2 separate regions of the Homo sapiens genome follow, and region 1 is linked to region 2. Evidence: promoter capture Hi-C in human tissues and cell types (Jung and others, 2019). All regions are on one chromosome and are shown on one strand. The core of a region is centred on a gene start or on the middle of the fragment in contact, and the rest is flanking DNA. Distances in the headings are between cores, read along the strand shown.

Evidence for each region. The method cuts DNA at HindIII sites, captures the fragments that hold promoters and counts their contacts. A contact is called where the count stands out against the background at its distance.
Region 1: a contact is called between a fragment that was not itself captured here and the fragment with the promoter of MAPKAP1 in region 2, in 2 of the 25 tissues and cell types used here (dorsolateral prefrontal cortex and hippocampus).

What each region holds. Positions count from the first base shown.
Region 1 is chr9:125,607,257-125,613,702 of GRCh38, reverse strand. All of the region lies in intron 4 of MAPKAP1 (MAPK associated protein 1), which reads left to right. Among named protein-coding and RNA genes, the nearest start is that of MAPKAP1, 97 kb to the left of the region's middle. The HindIII fragment of the contact is 6,770 bases long and covers 1-6,414 here.
Region 2 is chr9:125,703,851-125,710,697 of GRCh38, reverse strand. It overlaps MAPKAP1 (MAPK associated protein 1), which reads left to right and starts at 3,490. Exons shown (of 12, transcript NM_001006617.3): 1 at 3,490-3,727. RefSeq lists enhancers at 3,117-3,276, 3,274-3,568 and silencers at 3,277-3,446, 3,557-3,786. The HindIII fragment of the contact is 13,511 bases long and covers 1-6,847 here.

The DNA.
Region 1 (6,446 bases), core at 1,780-4,279, 97 kb after region 2:
GTTGTCACAGGTTGGGTTCTCCTGGGAAGCAGTCTCTGAAATGGAGATTAACATGCAGGAAATGTATTAGGGAGTGTTTTCTGGATTAGCATCTGTGTGGAAAAGGGAGGAAAACAGAATTGGGTAGAGGGAGGAGTTGGGACTGTGATGCAGTCGTAACAAGGCCTCACCTGACACCATGGAGTACTCTGCAGCTGGATGGACCTTCACAGTTGTCCCAAGTTAGGGTAAGGGGGTCAGGCCTCTTACATTCTTGCATCTAACCTATCATTGGATTCTGAGTGTCGTGAGAAGGAGGTGCAGTCTTGGCAAGGTGACTCTGTCAGCCAGCACAATTGCAGGAAAGGACTAACAGCTGATAGCCATCAGCCAGCATTCCTTCCAGCAGTTGGGAAATATGCGCTTTATTCCTGAAAAGAGGGAATCTGGGTGGTACAGTCCACCCTTGGTGCTGCTTGGGTTTACTGGCTTCATGTTAAGTTCTGGGAGCACACCTTCAGGTCTGCGTTGGACTTCGTTTCTTTGGGGAAATTTATACAAAGAGGGTTAGTATAATGATCTACAGTCCTGTTTCTACCACTGGTCTTGAGGTCATGACTAACACTCATCTGTCTCTTCAAGTATTTATTCTAGTCCTGTCAACCTTGGTTAGTTAGCATCTTGGCTGGTCTAGGTCTTAAATGGTATGATGACCCAGATCCTTATGTCTGAGGGCCCAAGCCTCTGTTTACCTTTCTCAGGATGTAGCTGCTTCATTTGTCCATTAACCACTAAAATTGGGTAAAAGTAATAAGATACCCCAATGGATTTACTGGCTAGATGTGTTTCTTCCTGCCTCCATTGTGTAACAGCCTCATGTTCTTTTGATGAGTGTCAGTCACTCCTGTGAGGATGGTGACTTTCCTTCTTGCCTGATGTCCCTTGGCATGAGGAACCTGGGCTGCAGCCATAGTTTTAACATTTAGTGGTACTTCTGCTGTGTCTCCCAGTGGAAGTGTTCTCCCTTTGGGAATCAGGATCTCTTAATTGATAGAGCCTCTATTTACCCAACAGAATTAAAAACATAAGTTCATTCACATAAAGATTTGTACATGAATGCTGGCCTGTTCAAAAACACTGCAGGACAGATGGCTTCAGAAAGAATAGGGAATCAGGAAATAGACAGTGCGTTTAGGAACTCAGTTTATTGTGGTTCTACAACAACTGATTGTTAGTAGATAAGTTTAATTTCCAATCTTACTCCACATGCCGCCCCCCATTAAAGAGCTAACATAAAAATTTTAAATTTAAAAAAAAACTAAAAGAATTTGTACAGAAGCTGTGACACTACCAGTTATTTGAAATTCGTTGAGCATGGCTGTATGCCCATTAATATAGGTCACCTTTTATAAATATTATATGTGAACTTGGAAAGAATGTGATTTTAGCTGCTGTTGGTTGCAATATTCTAAATATTGTCATTAGGTCAAGACTGTTACAGGTTGAGCATTCTTACTCTGAAAATCTGAAGTTTAAAATGCTCCAAAATCTAAAACTTTTTGAGCGCTTATAAGTAACTCATGTATCAAAAAATAACAGAAATCAGAAAATATTTAGAAACAAGCATTTCCTTTGGAGCATGATCAAAGGAAATGCTCATTGGAGCATATTACATTTTGGATTTTTGGATTAGGGTTACTCAACCAATAAGTATAGTGTAAATATTTCAGAATCTTAAATATGAAACACTCCTGGTCCCAATAATTTTGAATAGGGGATACTCAATCTGTAAATCTGTTAAAATTTTCTTTACAGATATTTTTGTCCAAGCCATCAGTTAGACAGAAATACGCTTGAATTTCCTGCTGTTGATAGACTGTCCATTTTTTCTTGTTAATTGTGACTATTTTTTCTTTGTATATTGTGATGTTATGCTTTTATGTTCACACAATTTCAGAATTGCTATTTTTTCCTGGTGAATTGAACCATTTGTCATTTGTGATTAACTCTAGTGAAGTTTTCCTCCCTTTCAAATAGTTACACCTGCTCCATTTGGTTGATATTTGTCTGGTATAGATGCAATTTCATTTTGATGTTTTAAGATACAGATCTTCTTTCCTATTTTTCTTCTTTTGCATTCATTGGGCTTTCTGAATCTGCATATTAGTGTCTTTCATCATTCTGGAAAATTCTCAGCCACTGTCTTTTCAGACATTGCCTCCGAACCAGTTATTCTTTTCTCTTCTTCTGAAACTCTAGCTACACCTATCAGAATGTGTTATTTTATCCTTCTCATCTCTTAATTTCTCTTTCTTATTTCCTATCTCTGTGTCTCTTTGGGTTGCATTCTAGGTAATTTCTTCAACTCATATCTTCCTAACAGATTCTCTCCTCAGCTGTGGAACCCATATGTTGCATTTCCAATTTTAGTTGTTGTATTTTTAATTTCTAGAAGTCTGATTTTGATCTTGTAAAAATCTGCTTGGTAATTTAAAAAACTATTACGAAAAGTGTAGTAATTTTATTAGTAAAAGTTCAGTGAGCACCCTTATGTGTAGCACCTGTATTCAGTAATTGTTAACATTTTGTCATATTTGCTTTATTTATGCTTTATTTAATCTTTAAAAGTTGACATTCACTCCTAGCGACATTCTCCTACTCAACCATAATATATCACACCTTGGATAATCTTTTATAGTCTCTTGCACTTACTCCACATTTTTGCTTACACATTTATTTTATATTTTGCTTCTGATCATACTGTTAACTCCAGTCTTTCTGGGCCTATTTCATGATGCCTTCTATGTTTTGTGATTTGGAGATAGAACAAATTATTTCTTGCAAATTTTTCTGTTGGAATTATTTGAGTCATTTAGGTTTTTCCCAATAGGATCTGCGTTTGCTTCTACCTAGAACCTGGGGGCACTACCACCTCAGGACCACTTTAAATTCTTGGCTTAAAATCTTTCTGGTCCATCAAATAATACGAATTTGGGATAGAAATTTCATATGAAGGTTCGTTTATGTTTATAAAGTCTGAGGAAGAAAATAATTTTGGGGGAAGACAGGCAGTTTTACCTTGCTGGAGGTCAGTCGGGAAACCTTAATTCTAATTTACTCTCACATGTAGGTCTTTGGTGGTGGTGGGTTGTGAGGAGGGTATCACGGTCTTATTATAGGTTATAGATAGACTGTTCCCTATAGCCTGCTGACCAAGAAAACTGACACTTCATGTCACCTTGTTTGGCAAGTACCATCATTAAGGCAAAATTATGTTCTGTTTTTCATTCTAGATTCTCTTTTCACTTAGTCTTTGTGCTTTTGTGATTGCCTTAAAAAGTTGCCAACCAGTGTATTGAGTCAGATAAAATAGCTCTTTTTATATTTCATAAATATGTTTAACTGTTTTCTGTTTGAGGGTTGGTCAGGATACATACTTTGCCATATGGTTGAAATACAAGTCCTATAGTAAAATAGTTTTTAGTGTGTTGTATTAAATGCTGTGGGAGAGGAATATATATTACAGAATGAAGAGAAAGAGTTTGTGTTTACACATATCATGGCTCTTTATTTCATGCAAATGTTGATTCAAAATGTAAGAAGATGTTTTTTCAAATAAGAACTTTCCCTCCAAAAAAGCTTTTCAAATATATTGGTTTTGGGAAGAATTGTTGTCAAGTTAAGATTGTGGTCTTTTGAGTCAGTCAGAGGCGGGTTTCCATCTGAGTTATCTTACTGGCTGTGTGACCTTTAACAATTTCTTTCACCTCTTAGCAGTTTATCTGTAAAATAGGGTAAGTGGGGGCTGTTTTGAAGATCAAAAGAGAGAATTTATGTGGCACACTCAGCCCAGTGCCAGGCACAGAGTAAATGGTAGCCATTTTTAATTTTAGTTATTCTCTTTCCAGAAATGTTCAAGATGCTGTTAATAGAGTGTTAAATGTGAAACATCTCACATTGTACATGGAGTAGTGTAAAATTGAATGTGGGTTTGGGAGAAACTACCAAAACTACCAAAAAGAGAAAAACGAGAAAGGCACTCAGGGTCAGAAAATGAGGAAAACAGGATGAAGCTTGGCAGGCCAGGCCCGGTGACAAGTGCCTGAGTTAGCTATTCAGGAGGCAGAGGCAAGGGGATCACTTGAGCTCGGGAGTTCAAGACCAACCTGGGCAACATAGTGAGACTCTTTCTTAAAGACAAATAAACAACATACTCTTTCTTAAAAACAAACAAACAAACAAATAAATAAAGAAGCTTGGCAGGTGAAACAAAGCCAGAGGCTGTCTGCTTCCCTTAGCATTCCGAGAGTGGGATTTCTTAAGGATTTTTTCTGTTCCAGCTCTTTTTTGTATATGTCCTGTTCATTTAGTTGAGCATATATATCCCTACCCCTTTGGGTCAAAGGAAGTTCCCACTTGCTGTGGTTCAAGGGAGCTGCTTTGGGTACTTTAGGGGAAGGAAACTTGTTCCCTTCTATAGAGACCTCAAAGATAGGAATTTTCATTCCCATCAGTTCAGCAAGTAACCATTTTGCATCCCCAGAATTCTGGAAGTACCTAATTAAAAAATGACACAGTTGCATTTTTAATAGACAAATTTACAATTAACAGGAATTTAAAAATATATAACATGAAACATCAGCATGTTTCAGGTAGTATAAGCATTTAGGTTTTTTTCTCTCCCTCTTGATATGACTCAGTCTAATTCTTGTGTATCTTCTTAGTTAGGCTCCACTGTAGGGCAGTATTGGAAATAAGAGGGAATTGTGTAACCCACCTCCATCTAACCTTTTGCTCTCTATTTTTTTGCATGCCCAAAGACAGGAGAAGTATGTCTTATTCATCATCTTTGTATATTTCTCTTGGTACTAATATTGTCATTTTGGTTTTTTAGTAAAGGAAATTGGCTTATTTGAAACGTTTGATTTAATCCTCTGTGGAAATAGCGGTTTACTGGAAGGTTAAGGCAGCCGGTTTGGGCTCCTCTCAGAGTCTCTGTGCAATTGTTGGAAAGGAAACCCCAGGGAAACCCCTGAGCGCAGGCGTCGGAAAAGCAGTGGCTGCGCAGAAGACAAAACACTCCAGATGCTTTATCAGGTGCTGTCTGGAGAGCAGGAATAATGGTCTGAAGGCGGAAATGCTGATGTCTCCACTTTCCCAACTTAGTACAAATATCTTCTTTATCTTTGGTGGATTTTGGTGCCACAGCGGCGGCCCCAAGAAGCCCTAAATGCAAATGTGATGGCTTTTAGAATTTTGGCTTTGAAAGCCTGGCATTTGGGGGTTTTCTTGACTTGAATTCTCTTTTTAAAGGGAGTGGATTCAGAGCATCCACTGTCAGTGCCATTTCCCTTGCTATGATGGCTTGTTCACTGTTTACATCAAAGGATTCAGGAAGCAAGAGATGTGAACATAAATAAATAAATGATCAGACTAACAAATAAATAAAAAGCTTTGCTTCCTTTGTCACATTGTGAAAAGGCTTGACTGTAACATAATGGGAACACAGCAGCTATTTGATTAAAACTTCAGGACTTTTCTGGAAACTTCGAAGCATGTCTGCTACTATTCTTTTTTTCTTTTTCTAATAACACTATGACATGGGGTAAGTAGAACCCTAGAGTGCCATGGTTGCAGTGGGACTGTTGGATGCATCATCCTCCCAGTCACTACAGGCGCTGGCGTGACATACCCTCCCTGCTGGTGCCTGTCTGCCCATTGACATGGCCATCCTTCGGAAGCCCACAAGTTGATTTGTAACTTGTTTGCTCTTTGCCCCCATACAGTCTTATTAAAAGCAAAGTCACTTTGGGAGGCCAAGGCAGGCAGATCACAAGGTCAAGAGATCAAGCCCATCCTGGCCAACATGGTGAAACCCCGTCTCTACTAAAAATACAAAAATTAGCTGGGTGTGGTGGCACATGCCTGTAGTCCCAGCTACTTGGGAGGCTGAGGCAGGAGAATCGCTTGAACCCGGGAGGCGGAGGTTGCAGTGAGCCGAGATCGTGCCACTGCACTCCAGCCTGGTGACAGAGCAAGACACTGTCTCAAAAAATATATAATAAATAAATAAAAAATAAAAGCAAAGTAAGCGACTTTGCAGTGGGGAAGGCAATTTTAAGTGATGAGTAAGAACTCAGACTCTGGAGTTAGACATCCCCAGTTAGCATCCTCGCTTCACTAGCTGTGTAACTTTGGGCATGTTGCTTCATTTCTGCAAGCTTCCATTTCAACTCTAAAATAGAAATAATTGTTGAATCTAACTCAGAGTTGTTTGAGATTACATAAGCTAATATGGATGTCAAATGTATGGGGTGATATCTGACCTATAGTGTTTGATAAATATTAGCTGCTGTAGTGTTGGAATGAAGAGCCAGTCTTTGAAAAACACCCTTTATATCTTGCTTGTCTTCCTTTGATAGGAGTGTAGTTCATTTTATTTTTGAGAATTCTCAGTTATTTCTCCA
Region 2 (6,847 bases), core at 2,241-4,740:
AATTAGTTTCTCCTCTCTCCTCCTCATCTACCTCCCCAGTGCTGTTCCTCAGTTGCAGATGCCATGGGGAGCACGTCTGGTTTCCTTTTCACCCCATGTCTGTCCACCATCTTGGGATGGACGTTCACAAGGATCTCAGTTCCTTGACTATCTCATCTTCAGTGATTTTCCCCCCATTCCACTTTAGCTGGGACCCCCTCTCACATGGCTCCTCCTCTGAGGTTATTTGTTGAAACATCCATCTGTGACAATAACCTCCATCCTTCTGCTTTCCTTCATCAGTGACTTCCATTACATCTATTTGAGACCTTTAGGCCAGTGATACCTGTTTTTCTGGAATTCTCTTGCTTCCCTATCCAGCATACTTTCTATGGCTCATTGTTTTAAGCACTCTTAAAAGCTGATATGACCCCATCACACCTGTCTGGCAAAATCCTTCCTTGGATCAATCCAACTTCTCATTCTTTGGGTGTGTGTATCGTGACTGCTCCAACTAGCTATAGAATAATCACACTAGCCATCATATTAGTATCACCATACATTTAGTCTCCATTCTCAACTGGGCCCTCAATACTGTCCTTGAAATCCTACCATATATCACTGCATGCCAACTTACCACAGTAACTACAGTATTTCAAACCCATAGTCGAACTTGACTACAAGGCTTCTTAAGGGTAGGGTCCCCGTCTGGCTTTTTCACCACTGAATCTCAATAGGCACTCAATAAGTATTGCTTACTGACTGAGGTATACTCATACTGGTAGGCATTAGTAAATAATAGTCACATGCCAGGCTCTGTTATATGTAAGCTACATGTATTAGGTCATTCTATCCTTGCAACAAACTAATGAGGTTATGTAGGACTTCTGTCATTCCCATTTTCCAGGTAAAGATAAGAATATTTAGAGAAGCAACTTGGAGAGATGAAGTCACAAAACTTGTAAGTGGCAGAGTGAGTATTCACTTTTTATTTTTCTAATTTTTTTTTCAAGACAGGGCATTGCTCTTTCATCCAGGCTGGAGTGCAGTGGCATGATCACGTCTCACTGCAGCCTTGACCTCCCAGGGCTCAAGCAATCATCCCATCTCAGCCTCCCAAGCAGCTAGGACTACAGGCATTCACCACCACACCTGGCTAAAAAAAATATATGTGTATATGTGTGTGTATATATATATTTTTTTATTTTTTATTTTTTTGAGACAGACTCTCACTCTGTTGTCCAGGCTGGGCTGCAGTGGTGTGCTCACTGCAACCTTCACCTCCCAGGTTCAAGCGATTCTCCTGCCTCAGCCTCTCAAGTAGCTGGGACTACAGGTGTGTGCCACATGCCTGGCTAATTTTTCGTATTTTTTTTTTTTTTTTTTTAGTAGAGACAGGGTTTCACCATGTTAAGACAGGATGGTCTTGATCTTCTGACCTTGTGATCCGCACCCCTTGGCCTCCCAAAGTGCTGGGATTACAGGCATGAGCCACCGTGCCCGGCCTATATAGAGATAAATTTTTTAAGGTAGTGATGGGGTCTCACCATGTTGCCTAGGCTGGTCTTGAACTCCTGGGCTCAGATGATCTTCCTGCCTTGGTCTCTCAAAGTGCTAGGAAATATTTACTCTTTAGAATCTATAACTGCTTAGCAGTTTTAGATAGGTCGAGTTTTATGTGTCTAGGAGACAGTCAGGCAGCTGTGCTTCAGATTGGAACTCGAGAGAGAGAGAGAGGAAAATGGAGAGTAAGATTTAGGAAGGAACAGATAACCTGGTGACCTCAGAAAATCAAATATCCAAACTTGTTCACACCTGCTGCTTTGTTAGAGTGCCTCTGACAGGTCCCTGATGGAACTGTGGTGGTGTGTGTGCAAGAGTGTGTCTGGGTGCTGAGGTGCACTATTCCCCCAGTATAGATATGTGGTAAGATACCAATTACATAAAGTAATGGGATGTAGTAAGAGATCAATCACATATGGTCATGCGTGGAATGAGGATGTTTTGGTCAATGACAGAGTGCATATGATGGTGGTCCCCTAAGATTATAACATGGTCTTTTAATTGTACCTTTTCTGCATTTAGAGATGTTTAGATACACAAATACCATTGTGTTAGAATTGCCTACAGTATATGGTACAGTAACATGCTGTACAGGTGTGCAGCCTAGAAGCAATAGGCTAATACCAAACAGCCTAGGTGTGTAGTAGGCTCTGACATTGTGTAAGTACAGTCTATGATGTTTACACAACCACAAAATCAGCTAACGATGCATTTCTTGTGTCCTCATCATTAAGTGATGGATGACCATATTTGAAATACATGGGTAGACCCACCGTGTTTTTTGTTTTTTTGTTTTGAGACAGAGTCTCTGTCACCCAGGCTGGAGTGCAGTGGCCTGATCTTGGGTCACTGCAACCTCTGCCTCCCGGGTTCAAGCCATTCTCCTGCCTCAGTCTCCTGAGTAGCTGGGACTACAGGTGCACACCACCACGCCAGACTAATTTTTGTATTTTTAGTAGAGACAGGGTTTCACCATGTTGGCCAGGCTGGTCTCGAACTCCTGATCTCAAGTGATCTGCCCTCCTCGGCCTCCCAAAGTGCTGGGATTACAGGTGTGAGCCACCGTGCCTGGCCCCATGGCATATTTATTAATAAGTTTAAAATTGGGCAGGGGTCCCTCAGGGCTGAAATTCAACCTTGAGTTTTTTCTTTTGCTAAGGTGCGTTTTTGAGAGACTTCCCCAAGCATCTTTCAGGTGGGAGAACCACTCTCACTGCACTCCCTGAATCCTTTTTCCCCCTTCATCGTGGCTTTCTCTACTGATTTCCTCCGTGAGAGAGGAAGGGAGCAGCATGAGACACACTGAACTTCTGCCCTGTGCCAGTCCTCCTACATCTCCTGGAAACCTCCCAGCAGGGCTTGAGGAAGATTATTGTCACCTCCATATTACAGATATTATAATAAGAGAAATAACTAACATTGACTGCATGTTTACTATGTGTCAGGCACTATGCTGGGTGTTTTTCAAGCATCATCCCATTCGATTCCCACAGCAATATACTCTAAAGTTGAAACTATTGCCCTGGATGGGAAAACCCGAGGCTCAGAGAGAAGTGTCACATCCTAGGACACACAGCAAGTTATAAGAGCTGGCATTTGAACCCAGGTCTTTCTCAGAGAGGCTGAGCTGCCTCATCACTCATTTCTGGACGAACTAAGGGCTTTTCTCCGTGGAAATGGGGAGAAAGAAGATTCGATGGAGAAGCCTAACACTGATTCCTGCTCAAGGCAAGTCCAGGCACTGGCGCATCTTGCCAGAACTCAGTCTCCGACCCAGGCCTTTCCCTGCACTGGAGAAGCGGCGCGCATGCGCCCGGCCTCCCTCCCGGCCCCGCCCCGCGGGAAGCTACCGCTCCTTGCTTTCAGCTCTGGGGCTTGCGCACTACGTCCCCAGCCAGAGGCTCCTTCCCGGTCGGGGACTTCCGGAACGCCGGGGTGTGGTTCCGGGTCGTGTGCGGCTCGGGGTAATAGGGCTGCTGCTCGGCCGGCCGGCGGCGGCGAGCAGCAGGGGCATGAGGGCTAACCCGGGAAGCGGCAGCTGAGCGGGCCGGGAGGAGCGCCGGTCCCCGTGGATCCCGAGAGTGCAGAGCTCGGGGCAGGGGCCGGGAGGCGTGGGGGAGCCGGGCCCTCCCCTCAGGAACGTGTCCCGGGGCCGACCCGGCCCGTAGTGTGGAAGCAGCTTCAGGTAAAGGTTGCCCCAGCCGCCAGCTCCCCGCCCGTCCGTCAGCCCACCAGCTTGCCCACCTGGCGGCCCTCTCACCCCTCCAGTTTCAGCGCTGCCCGGCGGGCCGCCTGCCGGGCCCTTGTTCAGGTGGCCCGGGCGCGTTCGTTTCCTGGCCATTTCCAGAACTGGAGGCTGTCAGGAGTCTGAGGCGGGTGTGTGGTTTAGGGGAAAAGAAGCCAGCTGACCTGGTAGTGTGGGGGTGGGGGGTGTAGTTGACTCCGGCAGTTTCTGGGCCTGCACTTGGCAATATCTAGGTGCCCTGGTCTTCATAATGTGAAAATCAAGGTTTTCAAGCATTGACTGTGTGGTCCTTGTTTCCTTGCGTCCCTTCTCCCCCTCCCCCTTAAAGAGGTTAACAGCCTTACAGACTTTTTTCTAGCTACAGTGCTGCTGGAACTTTGATTCATTCTTTGTTTATGGGAGTGGCAAGGAGTCATTTAGATTTGTTTAAGGCTGGGAAAAAGAGATTGTAGCGTAAACAAGATTATGACTTTAACCAGAGACCCCCAAATTGACTCAGAAATTGGTTAAAACTTCCTTTTGAATGAATGAAAGTCACTTTGGAAGCCCACCACAGTACCTGGCACTGTACAAAGCACCATGTTGTTATAAACCCAAATCGGCAAAGTTCAAAACTTTCCCAGGTGTGAAGAGTCAAATGGAGACCCATTGGTTTAAAAAAAGCAGCGTTCTCATTCTCTGACAAGCAGGAGAGGTGGATCCGTAATGTTAAAACCCACTTGAGCAGAAGCCTAGATATGGGTTTTATTCCTTATATTTTATGAGCCCACACAAGGTACCTAGTAAACACGGAAAGAGTTCTTGATGAAGCAATAATTGTTTTCATGTTTTTCAGTTTACACACCTGCGGGATTTGGGGCATGCTGGTAGCCCTTTCCCATTCATCTGTGTGCTCATGCCTACCTTCAACTACTGTGTGTCCCAGACTGCACTTACACCCCCTTACATCTCCTAATCTGGCTCCTGGTTACCTTTCCAGTTATGCTTGAAAAGGTCTCCTTCTTTAATTACCCCATCCTGATCCATTACTCTGAATAAGTAGGATCTCTAATCATTTTTGTTCTTTCCTATTCCATTGATTTTTGTAGAACATTCTCCCTACCTTGCCTAGGTTTCCCCTTTTCTCTTTCAGTCTATTGAGACGCTTCCCACGGCTCAGCTGAGTTGGCCTCACCCAACCAATTCAGGACAACCCCACCTGGAAATGATTTTTCCTCTAGAATTCTATAAGCGCTCATTTTTATCTACAATTATTTAACTTAGCAAATGTTTACTGAATATGGATATGTATATATATGCCAGGTACCATGCTAGGCAATTAGAGATAAATATAAGATTCAGTCTTTGCTGCCAGGGAGCTCAATTTAGTGAAAGAGAGATAAGGGAAATGAATAATTCTAACACCGTGATAAGTACATTGTGTGAGAGTTCTTGTGACAGTGGTAGGTGCGGGAGGGGAATGGGTTATTCACCTTTGAGGGATGGGATGTGGCCAGGTAATGCTTCATAATTTGAGGTAAACTAAACTTTGAGTATTTGGGTATTATATAGGGGTTTCTATTGTTTAATCATTTTAACCTCAATTTACAGATTAGGAAGACCCATAATAAATTACACAGCTGGTAGGAGACAGAGCCAGGATTCAAACCCAGGTCTGTCTGATGCCTAAATCTGTGCTTTTTCCATTACATGTCTTGCCTTTTTCTCACATCATCTCCCTCTTTTTATGCAAGTACATATTGAAACCAAAAGTTATATAGGACAAAACATATGAATGTTAAAATGAATGGTACAGAAATCTTTTAAATGTAAAGACTGTGCTCTTCCAAGGCAAGGAGATGGCAGGTAGGTTAGTTAGCTCAGCTTTGAATATGAGCAGAGAAGACAGTCTATAGAAAATAGGCATGGACTCTGGATTCAATTCCTGGTCCCTGTTCTTACAGGATATGTGACCTTCGACACATAACTCCAAGCATCACTTTCTTCAACTAGGGGTTGGGTTAGGGAATAATATTGACCACATGGAGTGTTGTGAATATTTATTGAACTAATGGGGATAAAGGGCCTGGTACGTGGTAAAGTCCCCCGAAATAAATAGCTATAAGATACAAAGGTATAATGCTTGAGGCATGGTTTTAGACTGGTGAGTGAGTTTACAGCCTGAGTCATGCAAGTCATTGCTTCTTTTAGCAGGGTACAAGGACGTAAAGTTGGAGGGGCGGTAGGGGTCAGAGTCAGTGAGGGCTTGAGTACCAGGCAAGGGAGGTAAATTCCAGTTTCTGCTAATAACTTTTCCAGTTAATAAATACTTCGAGGATCTACGATTCATTTCAGCAGTGCCAAGCAAAATGTTAGACCTTGGGGATACAAAAAGAAGTAAAATTGGGTCCCTATCCTGAGGTTATTGACATTCTAGTAGAGGAGATGTCTGTGTGTGTGCAGGTGAACCATAATAAAGTACTGTGGGTTCTAAGGTAGAAGTCCCCAGGAGGTACCATAGAACACTGAGAAGGAAACACTGATGATGGTAGGTAATGAGTACTTACTCTGCTGGTGTGATGTTAAATGCTTTATCTCATTTTTTTCTCGTGTGAGAAGGTGTTATTAGCATCCTGATTTTACAGATGAGGAAACTGGGGCACAGAGACCTTGAATAACTTCCTTGAGTTTATGCTGCTGGTAGAGCTGTAAGATAGAGGGGATTATCTGCTGAACACTGAGATCGGCACTCTTCATTACTACACCATGTTGCTTGTTCTTTGTGATGTGGATGCGGACCCTCTGGAAAGGCTTCAGAGAGAAACTTGCCCTTGAGCTGTAGCTTCAGTGTGCCAGTCATTGTGAGACAGGAGGGATCACGAGGAATGGAAGTGGCCTTTGCACTAAAGGAGCTCATAGCCTTATCTGTTACTTTAAATGTTTTTCTTTTTTGGTGGGGGAGCTTGTTTTGCTTATTGACTTATACCTGAAGACTTCAGAAACTTTTGCAGTTGAGTGGATTTATATGATTCAGCCTAAGATAATTTGCTGGCAATCTGTTATTCTGATGTATAGGCCTTA